Regions from separate parts of the Homo sapiens genome. Here regions 2, 3, 4, 5 and 6 are each linked to region 1. The links are contacts of gene promoters, found by promoter capture Hi-C in human tissues and cell types (Jung and others, 2019). All regions are on one chromosome and are shown on one strand. The core of a region is centred on a gene start or on the middle of the fragment in contact, and the rest is flanking DNA. Distances in the headings are between cores, read along the strand shown.

Region 1 (3,414 bases), core at 266-2,765:
GAAGGGTCGCGAGCTCTGGGATGGGTAAGCCCCCCGGGGGCGCGCACATGGGTCCTGGCGGCGGATTCTACCAAAGCCGAAACTAGCTGGGCCCCAGGAAGCTGGCGGGAACCCGCGAAAGTCCGTTTCCAGCCCGAAGAGGGTTCGTTTTTCTTCGTTGGGGCAGGAAACAAACCACCAGTGCGGAATTAGCCTCGAGGTGGTGTAAAGTAGTGGCAGTGGTGGTGGGGTGTTTTTGGAAGGCGGCACAGAGTACAGGAGAAAAAGGGGTCATTAAAATAATAACCTCAATGGCCTAGTGGAGTCTCAAGAATACGTTCGAGACAGAGATTTGAATCCAGGACTGGCAAGAAAGCCCCTCTCCTAACCTCGACGGGGATGGTTAGTTGGGGTGGAGGGCGTTAGGAACGTGCAGGCAACCGGGTGAGGAATGTAGCTTTGCCAGACCTCGCCCGGAGGAGGTGAGCCCTCCATTTTTAGGTTCTCAGCACCTTTGCAGCAGCCCCTCCCCCGGCCTGCGCTTTTCCTTGGCACAGATCAAAACAAGCTCAATAGTAAGTTGCACTCTTGGCAATGATAGTATCTCTGCACGTCCAGAGAGGACACATTTCGACGGCGGTGGGTTCGAAGATGACCCAAGCCCTGAATCGTTCTGTGACTTGACGGAAGAGCACCTGGCCGAGTCGGGGAAGGAAACTGCCCCTCTTGGGCATTCCGGGTCCAGGCGCATCTGGGGCTCCACAGATCTTTGCCCACGTGGAAAAGGCAACATGCCCCTCCGAAAGGCCGGCCTCTCTCCGGTTCTACTTTTCTCTCTCCTCGCATAGCTTAGGTTCCCTCTAGTCTTTCCACTTTCTACTCTCACCGTTTGCTCTGGGGTCCAGACGCACCCCTCTGACTAGGGCGCCCTTCAGCCGGCCGCACCCACCCGCGACGCAGGCACCACCCGCTCCCTGCTCCCCGGCCCGCTCCCTCACTTACCTCGGATCGGGTCTCCGCAGACCCTAGGTTGGACATTAACTCCAGGTGCCCCAAGTCCCAGCCAGGAGACCCATCCGGGCTGATGGCTGGAGCGCGGAGCCCCGCCCAACAGGTCAGGGGCAAGAGTTCGCAATCCTGGGGTCGCGCGGGGCAGCAAGGGCGCGCTGGAGGCGGCGGCCAAGACTCCCGCCGCCGCCGCCGCCAACAGGGCGAGGGCTGCCGGCAACTCTCCCGCCGGGCCCCCGCACCCCCAGAAGCCGAGGTCCGAGCAGCCGCCGCTGCTTTGGGTGGGGGGCTGACAGGGCTGCGCGCGTCGCGCTCTTGGCTGGGGCTGCGCGGGCCCGGGGCGCTGCGGGCGGCTCAGCGGCAGCTGCCGCGCTCTGCGCCTCCTCTGGGCGCACTGCCTGGGAGCACGAGACTGGTTTGTCTGATGCTGCTGCCGGAGCTGAGGTCTTGCCTGGAGATCCGAACGAGACACCACGTCAACCGGCGCGGGGAGTCCCGTGAAGACATGAGGGCGCCAGGAGCGCAGGCTGGTCTTCTAGAGCCCGGGCTGGGGGTCCGGGGTCCGGGGTGGGGGAGGGGAGGCGCGGGGCCCCGGGAGGGAGGGGTCGGGAGGCGTCGGCTGGGCCTGGCGGTGGGGGAGGAGAGGAGAGCAGCGAGGAGGCCCTGGAGTTCCCGAGGCGGGGGGCCGGGGTGCGAGTGGGCGACGCGAGGCGCCCCTCCCTGGGCTGCAGGGAGAGCGCTGAGAGCGCGGAGACGCCGCGGGGCTAGCGCCTTCTCCTCTCCGGGTGGATCAAAAATCGAGAGGAATGTGCGGCGCTCTGCGCGGGCCAGCCGAAAGGGGCAATCCGAACTTGACCGCGGCGCCCGCGCCGGGCTTTGCCCCCGCGCGCCGCACTGGGAGGGTGGCGCTCTGCCGGTGCAGGGCAGCGCCGGGCTTTCCTCGCGCCTGTCGAAGGCCGGCCTTCCCGCTCGGGTGTCTCGCCCTCTCGCTTCTCCGCAGGGCAGGAGGCAGTGGCGAGAAAAGGAGCTGCCGGCCGGAGTTCTAGCACCGAGAAGGAGAGGTGCGGAGCGGCCGGGTGAGGGAAGCCGAGTATTTGCCAGGGGACGCTGCGAGTGGGGATGAATTTATAGGGCTCTCACTCCGTGACGTGCCCTCCAGTGGCTTTTCTGATTCGCTTTCTGACCTAAACACACATTAGTTTAGTCCCCATGCTAAGGCCAACACGGTCTCCAAATATCTGCTGGCTGAAGTCAGAGGCTTTGCATATCATGTATTACATGGCAGGCAATGAAGAAGGCTTCTGAGGCTGGCCGGCTCCTCAGTCCTAGGCTCCATTTTCATGCTGTTGTAATCTAATACCAGACATGGGGCAGGCACATACATTCAAAATCCCAATTCCAGAGGCGTAAGATCACTTTATCAGGAACGGGTTAGGGGAGGTTGAGCTAAACCTGCTTTTATCCAGATTTTCGAAAATGCAGATGGGAAACTTCAGCAAGCGCCCACTTGGATGCTGAGTTTCCAGCGATCAGGGGCCCGGCCCCCATTCCAGAGCTCTGTGGATGGGAGAGGTGAGACCTTCTGGGCATTCCTTTTGTTGGTTAGTTCACCACCAGAAGCTGCCTGAGCCTTCTTTTGTAGAGGACAGGAGGAGGGCAAGTCCTTACACACCCTGTGCATGGCTATAACCATAAATACATTTCATTCACATGGGGCATGGAATTGGCTGTACCTCTAAAATAATGTACTAAATAGGGCATGTCTTTGCTAAGCAGAAACCTGTTTTCCGGAAGCCATTGGACCTGAATTCAGTGGGACCTCTTTTATTTTATTAGCTGGGGCCAGGGAAAGTGTAAACAGGCTCAGTTTACGTCCATGTACCTCTTATTTTATGACTCATCCGGTTGTTGGGGAGTATGTGTTCTTCAAGTAGCTGATACAGACAATAGGCAGGGGAAATGCGTGTGGCAGTGTGGGGGGAAGATCATGTATTATTAAACTTCTTAAAAGTCAAAGATCAGCTACTTTGCAGGTTTGTCAGTGAAGCGAGTGTGGGAGGAAAATTGTTCTTACTAACGTTGCTGTGATTTAAGATTAAGCGAAGTGAAAATCGAGTCATCAAAACATACCTTAGCTGAAATTAGGATGCTCTCTGGAGTTCTGCAGAAAATGACATTTCCCTCTTTGATAGATTTATGGTAGAAATGTAGTTAGATTCAGAAATTAGAGGGCAGAATAAGCTTAATATATTTATTGCCGTTTAGCATTGTTTTTGGAATTTGAAGACGACCCTCATCAATGTTCTTACTCTGAATGATTTCTTTATTTTTAGAGGGCTTTTTGCTGGGGATGATCAGCCCGTCCAAGCACCTGCAAATATCTAGCACTTGCTGTGTGCCAGGCAAAGTGCTAGGCCCTGGGCATTG
Region 2 (3,414 bases), core at 565-3,064, 430 kb after region 1:
CAGACATTTGAAAACCCACATTTCAGTATGATTCAGAGAAGTGAATGCCCCAGGGAGTCACTTTGAAGCAATATATAATTTAAATCCCACCTACATGCTGCCAAAGGCTATTGGAATAGTGGGGTTTTAAGGAGACTCTAATTGAGTCTGTGCTGTGAAATATGTCATGTTCAATACCTAGAGAACAGGTAGAGCTTGAAGTAATGCATGGGGCTGCCTCAGACTTGCTTTATAATGTCTTTGGAGGCTAAGAAGCAAAGGCAATACCATTTACTCATACACTGAAAAGTAGTAGGTGGGGAGGGGTTAAAATAGTCCAGTGTCCAACAATCCTCCTTCCCCCATTTGTCTTTAAAACCAAAGGAAAGAGAGGCTTGTGTGGGAATGGCATCGGAGGTATGATTGAAAAGGTCAAGTTGCGGGAAAAGGATAAAGCTAGACCAGTCTGCCATAATGAGAACTAACTGTGAGATCATAAGTAAAACAGTACTCCAATTCTTCAACATTCTTCTTCAATTTTATTGTACTGACCCTGGCTTGCTTATGAAGATCAATTCTGTATTCCCTTGAAAGCAAAGCAGCCAAAAGCTAGAGTGTTTGCAAAGGATTTTTCATTCTTTGTTTTTTAAGAACCAACATGCCTGATAAAAATGAATACTCCTGGTAAGTCCTATTGAAAGCAACCAGTTGACTGAAACATTCATCAGTTGACTTTTTGAGAGGTGTGTGTATGTGTGTGTGTGTGTGTGTCTGTGTCTGTGTCTGTGTGTAACCTAAAAGTAACCTGCATTATAATAGCAGTTAAAAATGAACTAAATTGTTTTGAAGTGGTGAAGTATTAGTGATACATGTACCAATGTCTGAAATTTACTTTGAAACACATTTAAAAAAATAAGATTTAGAAGAGGAGGATGGTATAAGATGGTGGAATAGGACTCTCCAGCAATCATTCCCCTGCATAAACATCTATTTGAATAACTATCCATGCATGAAAATACTTCACAAGAGCTAGAGAAACCAGGTTAGAGACCACTGTATCTAGTTATAGCATAACAATAAGAAAAGACACATTGAAGAAGGTAGGAAGGATAGTTATACATTACCCATGTCACCCCTTCCCCAGCAATAGGCAGCACAGCATGGAGAGACACACCATACACTTGAGGGAAAGAAAGAGAAATAAGCAAAGGAGTTTGCTTTGCACTCTAATTCTGGGCTCACCACAGTAAAACCCAGCACTGGGAAGTCCTACACAGCCCGATGACAGGCTGATACCCACAGACATAGCCCCTAGACCTATCCCTACACCAGATGGGAACACATAGCCCCTGCAAGATGGACTCAAGTTCTGGCCTGCATCACTGCTGGCCAACTACAGAGGCTTTGGACTCCACATAATCCCTAGTGACAGGAAGGCCTCAGAAGGTGTGACTTTTGGGCATGCCCCAGTGCTGTACTAGCTTCAGTGGCCATGGGCTTTGATTACACATCAGCACTGCAGCAGCCTTAGCAGCCGTGAGATTCTAGCCCGTGCTGTGACAGCTTTAGCAGCCATGGGACTTCAGTTTGGCACTGTGCTGGCTGTGACAGACCTGGGCTTAGAGGGCCCCCACGCACTGCAATGTGTGCAGTAATTGCAGTCTTGGGGACCACACCCTGACAACCTGCCCAAAATCTCTAGATAGGCTTACTATTGAAGGACATTCCTAGACAGAGCTAGACTGTGAACACTGGAATAAGTATCTGCTTCATCAATGTGCAGACATTGACACATGACCAAAATGATCAAGAACAATTTGGGAAACATGACATCATCAGATGAACAAAATAAGGTGCCAGTGACTAGCCCTGAAGAGATGGAGCGCTATGAACTTCCTGACAAAAAATTCAAAGTAGCTGTTTTAAGGAAGTTCAATGAACTTCAATAAAATGCGTAGAAACAGTTAAATGAAATGAAGAAAAGAATAAGTGACCAGAATGATAAATTTAACAGAGAAATATTAAAAAATCAAATATTATAACTGAAAAATACAATGAACAAAATGAAAAATATATCAACAGCAAAGTTTATTAAACAGAAGAAACAATCTGTGAACCTGAAGATATTTGAAAATATACAGCGAGGATTAAAAAGAAAAAATGAAAAAAGAATGAAGAAAGCTTACAGTATTTATGGGATAGCGTCGAAACAGCAAATGTTTGAGTCATTGGCATTCAAGAGGGAGTAGATGAAAAACAAAGGGGTAGAAAGCTTATTTAAAGAAATCATAGCAGAAAACTTTTCAAACCAGGAGAAAGATATAAATATCAAATTATAGGAATGCCAAAGGTCTCTAATCAGATTAAATCCAAATAAGGCTGTCTCAGGACATATTATAATCGAACTGTCAAAGATCAAAGACAAAGAGAGGATCCTGAAAGCAGCAAGAGAAAAGGAGCAAATAACATATAAGGGATTTCCAATATGCCTAACAGCAGACTTCTCAGGAAAACACTTACAGGCCAAGAGAGGGTGGGATGATATACTCAGTTTTGAAGGAGAAAAAACTGCCAACCAAGAATACTGTACCCAGAAAAGCTGTCCTTCAGAAATGAAGGATAGATAAAGACTTTCCCAGACAAACAAAAGCTGAGGAAATTTATCACCACCAGACCTGTCTTACAAGAAATGCTAAAGGGAGTTCCTCAGGCTGAAAGAAAAGGGTGCCAATGAGTAATAAAAAAAATCTGAAAGTATAAAACTGAATGGTAAAAGTAAGTACACAGTCAAATTCAGAACACTCTAATACTGTAAGGTGGTGTATAAATCACTTACATCCTTAGTATTAAGGTTAAAAGACCAACTGTTTAATGATAACTACAATCATTTGTTAAGGGATATGAAACATAAAAATGTAAATTGTGACATCAAACATTCAAAATGTGGAGGGGTAGTGAAGTTAAAGTGTAGAGATTTTTTTTTCCAATCAAAGTTAAGTTGTTATTAGCTTAAAATAATCTGTTATAACTATAAGATGTTTTCTGTAAGACTCGTGGTAACCACAGAGCAAAACCTATAATATACACACTAAAAACAAAAGGAAAGGAATCAAAAATACTACCAGGGAAAACTACTTAACCAGAAAGAAATATGGTAAGAAAAGATGGAAAGATCTCCTAGAAAACAATTTTAAAATGGTGGTAATAAGTGTGTACCTATCAATAATTACTTTGAATATAAATTGATCAAATTCTCCAATTAAAAGACATAAAGTGGCTTGAAAAACAAGACCCATCTATGCACTGCTTATAAGAGGCTCACTTCACCTGTAAAGACACATATAGGCTGAAAGTGAATGGATGCAAAAAGATATTCTGTGCAAATGGAAACCAAAAGAGAACAGTAGTAACTATGCTTATATCAGATAAAATAGA
Region 3 (3,414 bases), core at 297-2,796, 310 kb after region 1:
TCAGAAGGAATGTATCCCTACCATTAAGTGACGTATGACAATAGTTTCTTTTCCCCTCTTCCCTCCTCTTTGATGTTGAAGAATGGCTTGGCAGAGCCTGGAGGTCAGTCACATAATGAAATGGTTGACTCCTAACTCTAAGATGTGGATTTCTTTGGTACAGAGAGCTGTTCTTCAAAGTCTTAAATATACAAGAATCCCAGCTTGGGCTCCCAGAGATATTAGGTGTTTTTCTCACCTCCTTATTTCCCTCTTGTTCAATAGTATTCACTATTCCATTGTGAAGTCTCCCCCAGGTCATTTTTGGTTGATTCTGGGCATCTTTCTTGATCATCCCAGCTCTTCCCACTGGTTGGGATACACTAGGAGCTTTTCCAAAATTTGATCTTGGGCTCTGCTATACCGGCATGCTGCCTCAAACAGACAGTCCCTTGACTTACCATAAGTCAATTCCATTGTCCAGCTTCTTAAATAGAAATCATTTGGTCGTTTTAATATTTTGACTGCTCATTCCTGCATTTATATATAATTATGCTTAGACTGCCTTTTTCTACCATGTGCAAATTCAACATGAAAACACTTCTCTCTTTAGCTTTAGCCTCACTGGCTATGCTGAGCCAAAGCTTTTGTTTTCTGTCTAGCTTATCCACCACCCACTTCATTTGACCTTATAAACATGTTTAAATAGATTTCTCGGATAATGACCATTCTAGCTGGCAACTTCCCGTTTAGATATTATAGCAGGCACAGTGCAAATTAGAGGGCAGAGCAAAAGCACTAAGAATCATGAGACCCTGGATAAATATAGTAGACCCGCTCAGCCTCATAGGACAAGGCTGGGTTCTTACCCCAGTTTACCCACTGACTCAGGGGGTGACTCTGGGGAAGTCCGAGTAAAACAATCATTGGTTTCATCTACTGGTGACTCAGTCATGTTGATCTCGATAAATGGGGGCAAAAGAAGGAGTCCGCTGTCACGGAGACACCTCATTTCCATCCTGGATATTTCACTGTTCCCTGGGTTGGCCTCTGAGTTCACTGGGAGGAAAACAAAGATGCCCTTTGTGCACTATTGAAGGCAGGCTGGGGCAACTGGCCGTATCAGCAATGAGAGGAATCTTTTAAAGGTTAGCAGATGGGCAAATAGGAAGAGCTGTTCAACCTGATATTAAAAGGTTGCGTTTCAAAGGTGGCTTTGTTCAATTCGGTGTTATCTTGCTTTAATATTTTCCACTGCTCTGCGATTTTGCTAATAGACCGTTCCACCAGTGATGAGAGCATTCAGTGAGAGCCTGGTGTTCTGCTCAGTACCAAGTGCAGCACTTTCACATGCTTGATGCTCAATGAATGTTGAAGGAGAGAGTGAATGGATACAGAGCTGAATGAGTAGGTATGGTTACATTGTAAATGGCCTTGCTCACATTCTTTGACAGCAGCTTTCTTTGCTGACTTGATTTTCCAAATGTCAGAATTGTCAAATCTGAGCTTCTTCAAGTTTTCTTTCTTTTCCTGATTTCTAGAGTAAGGGTTGGTTTAGTAAGCATTTTCAGTGACTCTCTGATCATCTGATGGGTCTTTTAGATTCAGCTATTTGCAGGAGATCATATTTTTGTGACCTAGAAGGGAAATTTTTTTGGATAAATTTTCATGAGTCTTTATTAAATAAACTTAGCATATCCTCCTTCCTCATTCCATAGAAATAGATCTCCATACTTTCTGAGTTGGAATAAGGAAATGAAATAATATAATATATAAAGTTGTACAGTAATTTGATGAGCAACTAGATTAATTGTTCTTCAAAATGCAGAAAATAAACCAGTATACTAAAGGAAAAATGCAACTTGCAAAATAAATTACTGTATAAAAAAACTTAAACATTCATATTTTTCCCTTTGAGGGAGAAGAGGCAACTTCAGATGGGTGAATGACATCATTGTTGACTAGTTAATAAAATCATCTTATATAATATAGTTCTTATACACTTTTTTTGTTGTCCTGAATACCTTTACGTCCTGATAAAAATTGCTTGAGGCATGAGGAACAAGTGTTCGGTACTCTTTGAAGAGATGTGGTAACTAAGCATTGGGGGTTGGCCTTGTTGCCTAAGATCACACAGTTTGCAGCTGAACTGAAACTAGAAACCGGGGATGCTGGATCAGAGTCCAGTACTCTTTAGAATATTAGAAAGAAGGAAAGTCAGCTGGGTGCGGTGGCTCGCACCTGTAATCTCAGCTCTTTGGGAGGCTGAGGCAGGCAGATCACTTGAGGTCAGGAGTTTGAGACCAGTCTGGCCAACATGGTGAAACCCCGTCTCTACTAAAAATACAAAAATTAGCCAGGAGTGCTGGCACATGCCTGTAATCCCAGCTACTTGGGAGACTGAGGCAGGAGAATTGCTTGAACCTGGGAGGGGGAGGTTGCAGTGAGCCGAGATTGGGCCATAGCATTCCAGCCTGGGCGAAGAAGCGAGACTCCATCTCAAAAAAGAAAGAAAGAAAGAAAGTCAGATGCACAAAATATGAATGGAAGAAGAGCTAATAATAATGAAATGTTTTTGGTAGGGTTTACCTCAATGAAAAGCAAAATCACCTCCACTATTTTCTCCCAATTGAATGAAATGTTCTAAGTATCAATCTAGGAGTTCCATAAAAGCAAGGACTGTGCCTCCTTCAGATCTCCTGGATCTAACCCAATTTCTCATGTAGTAGGTCCTAAACACATGCTTGATGAATGAATAGATAACTTTCCACAATGTCTTCTGTTGTTAGCTCCTTCTCTTATCCCTTAATAATCCTTTCACATATTTCCTCCCTCTGGGTGGACCATAAGTCAACTTCAAGATTAGACATGTGGCATAACATCATTGTGAATACATATTTATTGAGCACAGTGAGGAAGCAAGAGTTGAAGCAAGGGTTATATTTGTCTTCTTGGATTCCACTCCTTCATAAATAAAGAAAACACAACTAGTAGAACTTTTGGGGTTGAAGAGACTTTAGAGATCATGTAGTATATTTCCTTCAGCTGAAGTGCAAAGGTATGAAATGGCTAAGGAAGGCCTCATAAGGAGATGGGAGCAGTGCTGATATGAGATTGGCATCTCCCAAATTCCAGTCCCGTGTTTGTTCTAATGCACCACCTCTTGCCTTTCTGGTGCATGTGTATATGTGTATATATCTATATCCATATCCATATCTATAGCTATCTTGAAATGAGTTGGTCATTCTTGTCTAAATTTGAGTAACATCAAGGTCCCCGAAATTCAACAGGAAGGGTAACATATATTGCAAATGGTCTCTTTTCAATGAAATATGTTTTTGATTAGTATCTTATCAACAGTTTTCATAAGCAGTATAAGAAATGAAAATGATCACGTAGCACTAGTTGGACATTCACTTTGACTGCTTGTCAATC
Region 4 (3,414 bases), core at 620-3,119, 290 kb after region 1:
TCATTTCATATGCATTCTGACTTATCTGTGAGTCCCCGTTCCCTGTTTTTATAGCCACTGCTTGCCTTAATTTTACTCTTTACAAAATAATACAAGAAAGTACCAAGAAGTTTGGGATCATTTTATTAGCAACAAATGTCTGTCAGTATTAATTTATCCCATGTGTGAAATATGAGTGAGATAAATGCCAAACTATTAAATTCAACTTAACAGGAACAGCAAAGAATGAACTGAAATTCTTGGCTGGTAGAGTAGCCACATTTTTCTAGCAGACTTGACCTGCTGAAGTTCAGAGATCTGGAGTGAAAAACTTAACAGAGGTCGAGACAAGTACTGAATCTGGGAGGACACATTTCTCAGGATAAATTCGCCAGGATTTTAGCGAGTGGTTTCTCCATTTAGTTGCCAGACTTAGCAAATAAAAATATAGGATACCTAATTAAACTTGAAAAATAGCTTTAACTGCTGCATTTTGGTAATTTATTTTAAAAGTAGTGGAGTACAGGACATTTAGGGAGTCCCAACAAAGTGAATACACGACACAGGACAAAATTATTAAATACCGGACATATATGTATGGGTCACCTGGCAACTCAATTTCTCCATCCACTTGCCATTAGTAGACTTGCATGGGCCCTGTAGTTGCTCAAGACCATTATGAGAAAGGCCTTCCTTCCAAAGTATGATCCCCGACCATCTTGAGAGACAATAGTTAACATCAGGATCATTTGGGAAATTTCAGGACAAATATTTGCATAACAACAGGCTTGATTTAGAAGAGAGGTTCTTAACCCTGGATGTACATTAGGATCACCTGGGGACTGGGTTGCCAAATTAAATAGAGTGCTCAGTTAAACTAACATTTCAGATAAACACAAGTAACTTCTTAATGTGTGTCCCAAATATTGTATATAATATGCACAGTATTTATATGTACACTAAAAAAAAATTTTATCTGAAAATCACATTTAGCTGGGCATTCTGTATTTTCATTTGCTATGTTTGACAACCCTAGATGGGTGGGGGTGGGTTAAAACATGCCCCTGCCTGGGCCACACCCCTGATAAATTCAATCACAGACTAAGGGTGGGCCAGTTACGAATCTCTCCAGGTGATTCTGCTGGACAACCAGGGTTGACAGCACCTCCTCTGGAGTTTAGAGCTGAGCATCTGTGTTCACATGGCCCACCTGGGATTTGTTCAAGTGCAGATGCAGTGATCTGGGGTGGGGTGTGAGGTTCTGCATTTCTAACAAGTTCCCAGGTGATGCTGTCGCATAAGTCAGAGCACTTAGTTGTTTAACAAGCATTTCTGAGCTCTGAGGGTCAGAGTCAGGTGGGATGAGTGTAGAGGCCCACAGTCATTGAAGGGGTATAAGCTCCCCTCACAGTTCATGGCTGTTCGTCCGTGACAGGCGTTTGGTGCATTTTCCAGGTCTTTTCCTCACTAGCACTGCAGTGGGACCATGTGACATGAGCATTTCCTTGGCCCAGCTTGTCTCATAAGTTCCTAATGGTTTCCTCTTTGAGTAAACGATATACCTGGCTGCAAGGGGGAAACCCTATTGTGTATTTGGGTGTGTGTGTATTGTAGTGGAGGGAGGGTGATCAGAGAGCAATCCCTTCCCTTGAGGAGTTGTGCTCAGACACTGCCTGACCTAGCAGCCTCTCCTGGCCTGATGGAAGCAGGAGTTTGTTCTCTAGAAATAATCTGACCCAGAAAGCATTTTAGACCCCTTAGAGTAGCCATGATAGCCCTGCAGAAAATCATGAGATTTTTGCATTGGTGCATATGTGTGGAATGAAAGGTGTGGGATGAATGTGGATATGCACATGGCAACGGAGCCATGGAAGGAAGTCAGGCAGGGTCCACGGCACCGGGTGGGCCCACTTCAGCTTTCTTATGTTACTGAGTGAAGTTCCAGAGGTGCTTGTTCCTCCTGTGTCCCAGCTCCTACTCCCGACTGCTTCATGTCTGTTGTACACACACAAACACATGAGTGCACGCACACACATACAAACACACTTTTTCTTTCTTCGACTCTTAGAGAAGATCCAAAAGTTTAGGCCACTGTTAAGATCACTAGGAAAATGCTGGCTTGTTCCTCTGGGGTTGTCTAACCAAGGTTATGATCTTTAAAGGAATACACATGAGCCAGTCACTAGCTAATGCTGTCAAGTGTGGAGACTGAAAAGTCATTCTGAAAGCTACCAGGTACTGCCATGTGCCAGAACCGCCCTCAGAATACTCCATAGAAATAGGACAGGGCAGGTCCTTATTCCCGTCCCTCCAAGGAGGCGGGACAGATTAGTTGGAAAAGCAATGTTGCCTGCAGAATGAGAAGATCTGATCCCATTTAAGTTTTGGGATCTAATAGTGATGTGACTTTAGACAAGACACTTGAGTGGTCTGATTCTCCATTTCCTTCTAATAACTGGGCTAGTCATACTTGAAAGAGCTGCTGGGGGTTAATGAGAGAAGCTGCATGACAGCACCGAGCACAAGCCCTGGCACAAGGGAAGTGTAGATCCATGTCAGCCAGTCCTGCCTACCGGGAGAGATGCCGATTCTTTCCACTATCACTTCATGACCTTTGCCTCTCCATTTCTTATTCCCAGACATTTGCTCTGTGGCAAGAAGGCCGTAGAGAGCAGCAAAACTGCAGTTCAAAGAGAACTGCAAAGCCATGCATCAGCAGCCCAGCTCATGTTTATAAGGAATGGCATTTATAGCTGAGCATTTTCCAGGGTAGCATATTTCAATAACACAATACAAATCACACCAAAATACCAGCACACACACACACACACCCCTTTAAAAAGTATTTACTCTCAATTTTATAAGAAGTTGACGGAACTGTTGAAAGAATGTTGAAATGAAAAGCCACTTCTGAAACACCCCTTCATGCATTGAAACATTTTGGTGTGTTATTAGTATTATTCTTTTTAATCTGGAGGCTCTTGGCCACCCCCGCCTGCGTGACGGAATGAGGAAATGCTCCCATTTGAAGAGCAGGAATATCACTGGTTATCCGCTCCATGAACATTTGTTGATTCCAAATGAATCATCACCTGTGAAAATCAAGAAATGCCATTTACTGCTTAGACCCAACAGGATTGCACTCAGTGAACTAATTATTGGACAAAATGTGCCAATTGTTTCAGAGGACAGAGGTGCCCTGATTTCTTTTTTTTTTTTTTTTTTTGGTTTGTGATTTAAAAAAAAATCAGTTCAACTCCTCCTTTTTTTAACTTTTATTTTAGGTTCAGGAGTACATGTGAAGTCAACTCCTCACTTTTAAATGCTGCAAAGTGAGCAAACATTGACTAGTGTGGCCAGACATAGACAATGGTGTATTTGTGAGTAACGACCAAATTCATACAATCTACTGTAAATATATTTTCGTCTGTGTAT
Region 5 (3,414 bases), core at 437-2,936, 280 kb before region 1:
TGCAGAAGCAGATTTTTTTTTTTTTTTTTTTAAGAGACAGAGTCTTGCTCTGTCACCCAGACAGATTGCACTAGTGCAATAATAGCCCACTGCAGCCTTGAACTCCTGGGTTCAAGCTGTCCTCCTTCTCCAGCCTCTTGAGAAGCTAGGACTATAGGTGCAGACCACCAAGAAGCCAATCTTGAAGAAAAAAATACAAGTCAAAGCTTGGCTGAGCCGGCCATGTGGTACACCTATGACTGGCAGGTTCATGTATATGTCATTATTACTGAGTCAACTGCATTCTTTTCTTAATTCCATGAAAAGCAGTCTACTATACATACTGTCAGGGGAAATCTACTAAGAAGATGACTGTGATTGGCTATTACAGACTTGCCATGTCTCGTTTCACTGGTATTACAGGAAAAAAGAAATTTCTTTAAATAATACTTTAAGTGCCACGAAGACGGGACAATTTGTACTTCTTGGTATCCTCTATCCTCTCTCTCAAAGTGCTAGAAAAATGGACCGATCTAACTAATATAGAAAACCGAGGGATAAGATTATTTTGGTCAGTCTATAAATCCATATTTTTGAATTCTTTTAGAAATAAAGTCTTCCTCATCGATATCACAGAGATGGTATACACTATGCTAAAACAGCTGTTTAATTTAAATTGCATAAAATATTTAGTTAAGCTATATAGCCAAAACACATGCTAACAACAAATAAGGTTAGCCACCTTGGTGGGGAAATGGAGTGATAGTTCTCTAGAATCAGGAAGAATTCATTTGTGGCAGCTGCTTTGTTGGCATGGTGCTAAAGCTTGTTTTATCCCCAACAAGGACAGGATCTGGTGTAGGAGGGTCTCAGCAACAGGCCATGTCGTTATGAGGGTTATTTTTATAAAATAGGTCTCATTGTATTGGCAAAGCTTAATCCTCTGGTGGGTAGAATCCCTTTTATTATAGTTCATATTGTGACTTACTGCTTTTTAGTAGTAAATTAGAAAGGTTCTCTGTTGATTTAACATAAAGATAGCATCTGAAATTGTAAGCAGTTTTGCTATTTATGTAAATATTGTTTCATGTGTTATTGTGGAAAAGGAAGAAAGAACTTGTGGATTTAGAGAATTAAGGTTGAAGGAAATAGTGGCAAGGAAAAAAGAGGCATTTGAGGTATTCCATGATGCTGTCTCATGGTCCTGGGGTCTACATATGAGGAGGTGACACCAAATGCATGTTAAAATTTTATGTCATTAAGTGAAAATTTTTCTTTGTTTTTTAAAATGACATACTAGGCTGGGCGCGGTGGCTCATGCCTGTTATCTCAGCACTTTGGGAGGCCAAGGCAGGTGGATCACTTGAGGCCAGGTGTTCGAGACCAGCCTGGTCAACATGGTGAAACCCCGTCTCTATTAAAATATAAAAATTAGCTGGGTGTGGTGGCACATGCCTGTAATCCCAGCTACTTGGGAGGCTAAGGCGCAAAAATTGCTTGAACCGGGAGGCAGAGGTTGCTGTGAGCCAAGATAACACCATTGTGCTCCAGCCTGGCTGACAGAGTGAGACTGTGTGTCTCAAAAGAAAAAAAAAAGTAAAATGACATCCTAGAAAAATCAGAAAACTTAGATCCTGCAAGTTAATTAATGGCTTTGAGGCTTAATTCTCTTTTTTTTTTTTTTTAATTGATCATTCTTGGGTGTTTCTCCCAGAGGGGGATTTGGCAGGGTCACAGGACAATAGTGGAGGGAAGGTCAGCAGATAAGTGAACAAAGGTCTCTGGTTTTCCTAGGCAGAGGACCCTGCGGCCTTCCGGCCTTCCGCAGTGTTTGTGTCCCTGGGTACTTGAGATTAGGGAGTGGTGATGACTCTTAACGAGCATGCTGCCTTCAAGCATCTGTTTAACAAAGCACATCTTGCACCACCCTTAATCCATTCAACCCTGAGTGGACACCGCACATGTTTCAGAGAGCACAGGGTTGGGGGTAAGGTCACAGATCAACAGGATCCCAAGGCAGAAGAATTTTTCTTAGTACAGAACAAAATGAAAAGTCTCCCATGTCTACCTCTTTCTACACAGACATGGCAACCATTCGATTTCTCAATCTTTTCCCCACCTTTCCCCCCTTTCTATTCCACAAAACTGCCGTTGTCATCATGGCCCGTTCTCAATGAGCTGTTGAGTACACCTCCCAGACGGGGTGGTGGCCGGGCAGAGGGGCTCCTCACTTCCCAGTAGGGGCGGCCGGGCAGAGGCGCCCCTCACCTCCCGGACGGGGCGGCTGGCCGGGCGGGGGGCTGACCCCCCCCGCCTCCCTCCCGGACGGGGCGGCTGGCTGGGCGGGGGGCTGACCTCCCGGCCTCCCTCCCGGATGGGGGGGCTGGCTGGGCGGGGGGCTGACCCCCCCACCTCCCTCCTGGACGGGGCGGCTGGCCGGGCAGAGGGGCTCCTCACTTCCCAGTAGGGGCGGCCAGGCAGAGGCGCCCCTCACTTTCCGGATGGGGCGGCTGGCCGGGCGGGGGGCTGGCCCCCCACCTCCCTCCTGGACGGGGCGGCTGGCCGTGCAGAGGGGCTCCTCTCTTCCCAGTAGGGGCGGCCGGGCAGAGGCGCCCCTCACCTCCAGGATTGGGCGGCTGGCCGGGCGGGGGGCTGACCCCCCCACATCCTTCCCGGACGGGGCGGCTGGCCGGGCAGAGGGGCTCCTCACTTCCCAGTAGGGGCGGCCGGGCAGAGGCGCCCCTCACCTCCCGGATGGGGCGGCTGGCCGGGCGGGGGGCTGACCCCCCCCCACCTCCCTCCCGGACGGGCGGCTGGCCGGGCGGGGGGATGACCCCCCCCACCTCCCCCCGGATGGGGCGGCTGGCCGGGCGGGGGGCTGACCCCCCCCCACCTCCCTCCCGGACGGGGCGGCTGGCCGGGCGGGGGGCTGACCCCCACCTCCCTCCCAGACGGGGTGGCTGCCGGGCGGAGATGCTCCTCACGTCCCAGACGGAGTGGCTGCCGGGCGGAGGGGCTCCTCACTTCTCAGACGGTGTGGCTGCCGGGCGGAGGGGCTCCTCACTTCTCAGATGGGGCGGTTGCCAGGCAGAGGGTCTCCTCACTTCTCAGACGGGGCGGCCGGGCAGAGACGCTCCTCACATCCCAGACGGGGCGGCAGGGCAGAGGCGCTCCCCACATCTCAGACGATGGGCGGCCTGGCAGAGACGCTCCTCACTTCCTAGATGGGATGGCGGCCGGGCAGAGACGCTCCTCACTTTCCAGACTGGGCAGCCAGGCAGAGAAGCTCCTCACATCCCAGACGATGGGCGGCCAGGCAGAGACGCTCCTCACTTCCCAGACGGGGTGGCGGCTGGGCAGAGGCTGCAATCTCGGCACTTTGCGGGGCCAAGGCAGGCAGCTGGGAGGTGGAGGTTGTAGCGAGCCGAGATCACG
Region 6 (3,414 bases), core at 585-3,084, 260 kb after region 1:
TGGGCAGTTTGTTTCAGTCCTTCTAGCCCTTGATGAATAGTTTTTCACAGAACGACACATAATAGATATCATATGTAGAAGTGAAATGTTTGCTTATCAGTAGCTATTCCATATACACATTTCAGATGTGAGTTTATGTTAAATGCATTTCATGTAAACATAGACATTTATCTCCATAAATGTTTCCTTATATAGTTTTTGTTGCCATTCATTCAGTCACCACCGTTACTCTTTTCCAAACTCCCAATTTTCCAGTAGTGCTTCATCTATAATCACAGGCACCAAACTGGTATAGCTACATCAAAGTTGAATAGAGGGTAACAACAAGGACATGCGAATGAACATTAAGTAATTCCCTTAATAGTTGAAATCATCTGGGTTGGATCTTGTGCATGTTCAGATTTTCCATGACAGCTTTTTCTGTTTTTCCTCCAGAGCCACATGTCCCATGTTTAAAAAATACTGTAATTTTATGGGGTTTTAAAAAATCATTTTGCCAAAAACTATCCTTTTAAAAGGGGTCATAACAGAAGTCAAATATGTATTCTGAGACTCTGCTTGTGACATGATAGATTTAAGACTGTGTTTGCAATGCTTGACTGAATGTTCACATTCATTTTGCACCTGAATTGGGCAAAAATGTGGGTAAACTTTCTTGTCCCAGGCTGAGCCTAAGGTAAATTCCTGAATCAAATACTTTGAACAGTGCCTCCAGCAGCGCACTTGCAGGAGCCCACATGCATGGGGGATGGGGATACTTTCTAAGAAATAATTTAGTCTAAGGGGAGAATAGCACAACCTTGGCCTTGGAGAAGCCTGGTTCTTTAAGCAGTGGCAGCTATCTGCCAGTTGCTCCGTGAAATCATGTCTAAGTCCTAGGAAGAGAAGACACTGGGTGTCAAAACTCCGGGAGACACAGGGGCAAAGCCATATTGTGTGGGAAGGCAATGTTTCCACCTCACCACAGCAGAAACCCTGCCACCTCCTAAACCTCAGCACATCAGCGTCAGTGGAAATAGAAGTATCCAGTGGGAGTGGTAGCAGCACCTGTGGTGGGAGCAGCTCCAGCAGAGGCCGTGGTGCATAGGGAGGTGGTGGAGGCAGCCTAACTCAGCAGACACCAGTGTGCGCAGTGGTGGGGATGTGTCTTTGGGCTCTGGAGACAGTGGCAAGTTACCTTTATACTGCTTAGCAGTCTTGGCAGGGATGTCAACCACAGAGCCAGAGTGGTAGAAGAGAAAAAGTTGTTTAAATATATATATTCATTTGAAAAGTGTCCATGATGTATAACATGTTTGTGAAAGTTTATTCGGGGACAGAGAGAGAAAAGACCATGATGAATCTTTGAAGATGTTTACCAAACGTTTAACAATTTCTGCTTTATTCGTTCTTTTTCAAAAAGTACTTATTGAAATTATTGTCTCAAATGAGATACAACCTGAACCTCTACACGTAGTTTAGGTAATTAAATGCATCGCAAATACTGTATTGAGTGTTTTCAAAGAAAATATTAATTGCGCATGACAAGTCAAGTACATGACTTTCAATTTCTTCATGAGTAAAAACAGATTTTATTCACCAAATAGCTATTAAAGACATCTTAACTGATTGCAAATTTTAAAGAGAAGATTTTTACTGTTGTTATAGATTATCAGACTATGGGGCTGAGTATCCTACCAAGGGCAAGGAGAGGTGGCATCATTTATGATGAAAATGGAAGAAAAAGTGAAAACAAGGAGTAGAAATCTTACAAAGATGGAGACAAGACAAAGAAGAGGATTGCTGAATAGAGTTCTTAAAAACATGAATCAATTAGCCAAGCTTAGTCCTCTAAAGAGATGCTGCTTATCTGAGTTACCACAACTAGTGATAGCCTATATTCTCATGATCTGACCACCAACTGTTTGTCACTAAGGACTAGTGAAAATCCTTAACCAACTGCATTCTGCTTCACTAGACAGAGGATGTAAACTGGTAACGTGAATGAAATGTGCTGAAGGTTAGGATAGAGGGGTGCACAGGACTTGGAAAGATAAAAGGGAAGGGCACTATTCAAACTAGGAGTTCAGGGAAAGCCCTCAGAGATAAAGCTTGCATCTTACAGGAGAAGTCACGTGTACTCAGGCAAACAGAGGTAGGAAGGGTATTCTAACTAGAACTAGCAAGAGCAAAGGCACAGCAGCATGGAATCATGTGGCGAGTGTGTGCGTGTGTGCATGCATGTGTGTGCTGGGGTGAGGCAGAAGGTAGTACAATAGTGCAGCCATTACAATCAATAAGGGGCAATTAGTGTGAGAGCTCAAGATAAAGGGAGCAGAATACTGGAGTAAACTGATGCCGCTGATGCCAAAAACAGATGCTAGAAGACTAACAAAGAGGAGAAAAACTACATATTTGGTTTGACTGTATAATGTCAATTAAAGTCATGCAAGTGACCCACTATTTAATTGTATTATTTTATTTAATTTTATTTACTTAATTATTGAGATAGGGTCTCACTCTGTTGCCCAGGTTGGAGTGCAGTGGCATAATCATAGCTCACTGCAGGCTTGAACTCCTGGGCTCAAGCAATCCTCCTGCTTCAGCCTCCCAAATAGCTATGACTATAGGCATGTGCCACCATGCCCAGCTAATTTTTAAAATTGTAGAAACGGGGTCTCACTATGTGGCCCAGGCTGATCTCCTAGGCTCAAGTGATACTCCTGCCTTAGCTTCCCAAAAATGCTGGAATTATACTACTAACTTTTTTTGTCTAATTTTTGTGCTGCTCAATAAGATGTGTGTATATATAATATACATAGATACAAGTTTCATATCATATAGTCACCAGATTGATTTATTCTGTATACAATTATATATTTGTATATAATCACTTAATTTGATGCTATGTAATATATCACATATATTACATATAAAAACACATATAATCACTAAATTTGTCAAGTTAACTTTATTGTAAATTTGATTGAAATGCCACAATCAGCACCATACTTGCAGGCCAGTATTAGTTATTTTAATTAGTTAAGTGGCATTATTGCCTACTCAGGCATCAAAATTATTTTCTCAGTTTAAACACTTACATGGACTATTACACGTTATAATGCCTTTTGTCTTGCATGATTAATGTTTTCGTATTGTTTCTTTTTCGTGAGCAGAGGCAGTCTGCTAGCTGAGAAGTCAAAAGGCCTGTCTCGCACCTATGCTCTGTCCCAAGTAGCTGTGAGGCTATGCCTTTGTTTTCTCATTTCTCATAGGTAGGCTTTGGGATGAACGCTCCCTGGCTGCCCTTCAGGGGTGGCACAGTTTGTTGACAGAAGGGTGGAACCAGGACCCAGGACTCAGGACCCAGGACCCGTGGCTGGCAGCTCTGACTCTCCACTGTGTGTGATTGGGACTCAGTCCTGTCACCTGTTG

Evidence for each region. The method cuts DNA at HindIII sites, captures the fragments that hold promoters and counts their contacts. A contact is called where the count stands out against the background at its distance.
Region 2: a fragment that was not itself captured here is called in contact with the fragment with the promoter of GDNF in region 1 in 1 of the 25 tissues and cell types used here (H1 embryonic stem cells).
Region 3: a contact is called between a fragment that was not itself captured here and the fragment with the promoter of GDNF in region 1, in 1 of the 25 tissues and cell types used here (hippocampus).
Region 4: a fragment that was not itself captured here is called in contact with the fragment with the promoter of GDNF in region 1 in 1 of the 25 tissues and cell types used here (heart left ventricle).
Region 5: a contact is called between a fragment that was not itself captured here and the fragment with the promoter of GDNF in region 1, in 1 of the 25 tissues and cell types used here (mesenchymal stem cells).
Region 6: a contact is called between a fragment that was not itself captured here and the fragment with the promoter of GDNF in region 1, in 1 of the 25 tissues and cell types used here (adrenal gland).

Annotation. Positions count from the first base shown.
Region 1 is chr5:37,838,526-37,841,939 of GRCh38, forward strand. It overlaps GDNF (glial cell derived neurotrophic factor), which reads right to left and starts at 1,516. Exons shown (of 3, transcript NM_000514.4): 1 at 982-1,516. GDNF-AS1 (GDNF antisense RNA 1) reads left to right here and starts at 1,359. Exons shown (of 4, transcript NR_145476.1): 1 at 1,359-1,513. RefSeq lists an enhancer at 440-1,377. The HindIII fragment of the contact is 15,271 bases long and covers 1-3,414 here.
Region 2 is chr5:38,272,028-38,275,441 of GRCh38, forward strand. The region is part of intron 1 of EGFLAM (EGF like, fibronectin type III and laminin G domains); the gene reads left to right. Among named protein-coding and RNA genes, the nearest start is that of EGFLAM, 15 kb to the left of the region's middle. The HindIII fragment of the contact is 4,073 bases long and covers 1-3,414 here.
Region 3 is chr5:38,147,212-38,150,625 of GRCh38, forward strand. The region is part of intron 2 of LINC02107 (long intergenic non-protein coding RNA 2107); the gene reads left to right. It overlaps LINC02119 (long intergenic non-protein coding RNA 2119), which reads left to right and starts at 1,269. Exons shown (of 2, transcript NR_134272.1): 1 at 1,269-1,390. RefSeq lists a silencer at 856-1,150. The HindIII fragment of the contact is 7,248 bases long and covers 1-3,414 here.
Region 4 is chr5:38,129,180-38,132,593 of GRCh38, forward strand. The region is part of intron 2 of LINC02107 (long intergenic non-protein coding RNA 2107); the gene reads left to right. Among named protein-coding and RNA genes, the nearest start is that of LINC02119, 18 kb to the right of the region's middle. The HindIII fragment of the contact is 8,812 bases long and covers 1-3,414 here.
Region 5 is chr5:37,560,798-37,564,211 of GRCh38, forward strand. All of the region lies in intron 9 of WDR70 (WD repeat domain 70), which reads left to right. Among named protein-coding and RNA genes, the nearest start is that of WDR70, 180 kb to the left of the region's middle. RefSeq lists an enhancer at 1,632-2,339 and a silencer at 2,147-2,325. The HindIII fragment of the contact is 4,709 bases long and covers 1-3,414 here.
Region 6 is chr5:38,094,369-38,097,782 of GRCh38, forward strand. All of the region lies in intron 2 of LINC02107 (long intergenic non-protein coding RNA 2107), which reads left to right. Among named protein-coding and RNA genes, the nearest start is that of LINC02119, 52 kb to the right of the region's middle. The HindIII fragment of the contact is 3,100 bases long and covers 285-3,384 here.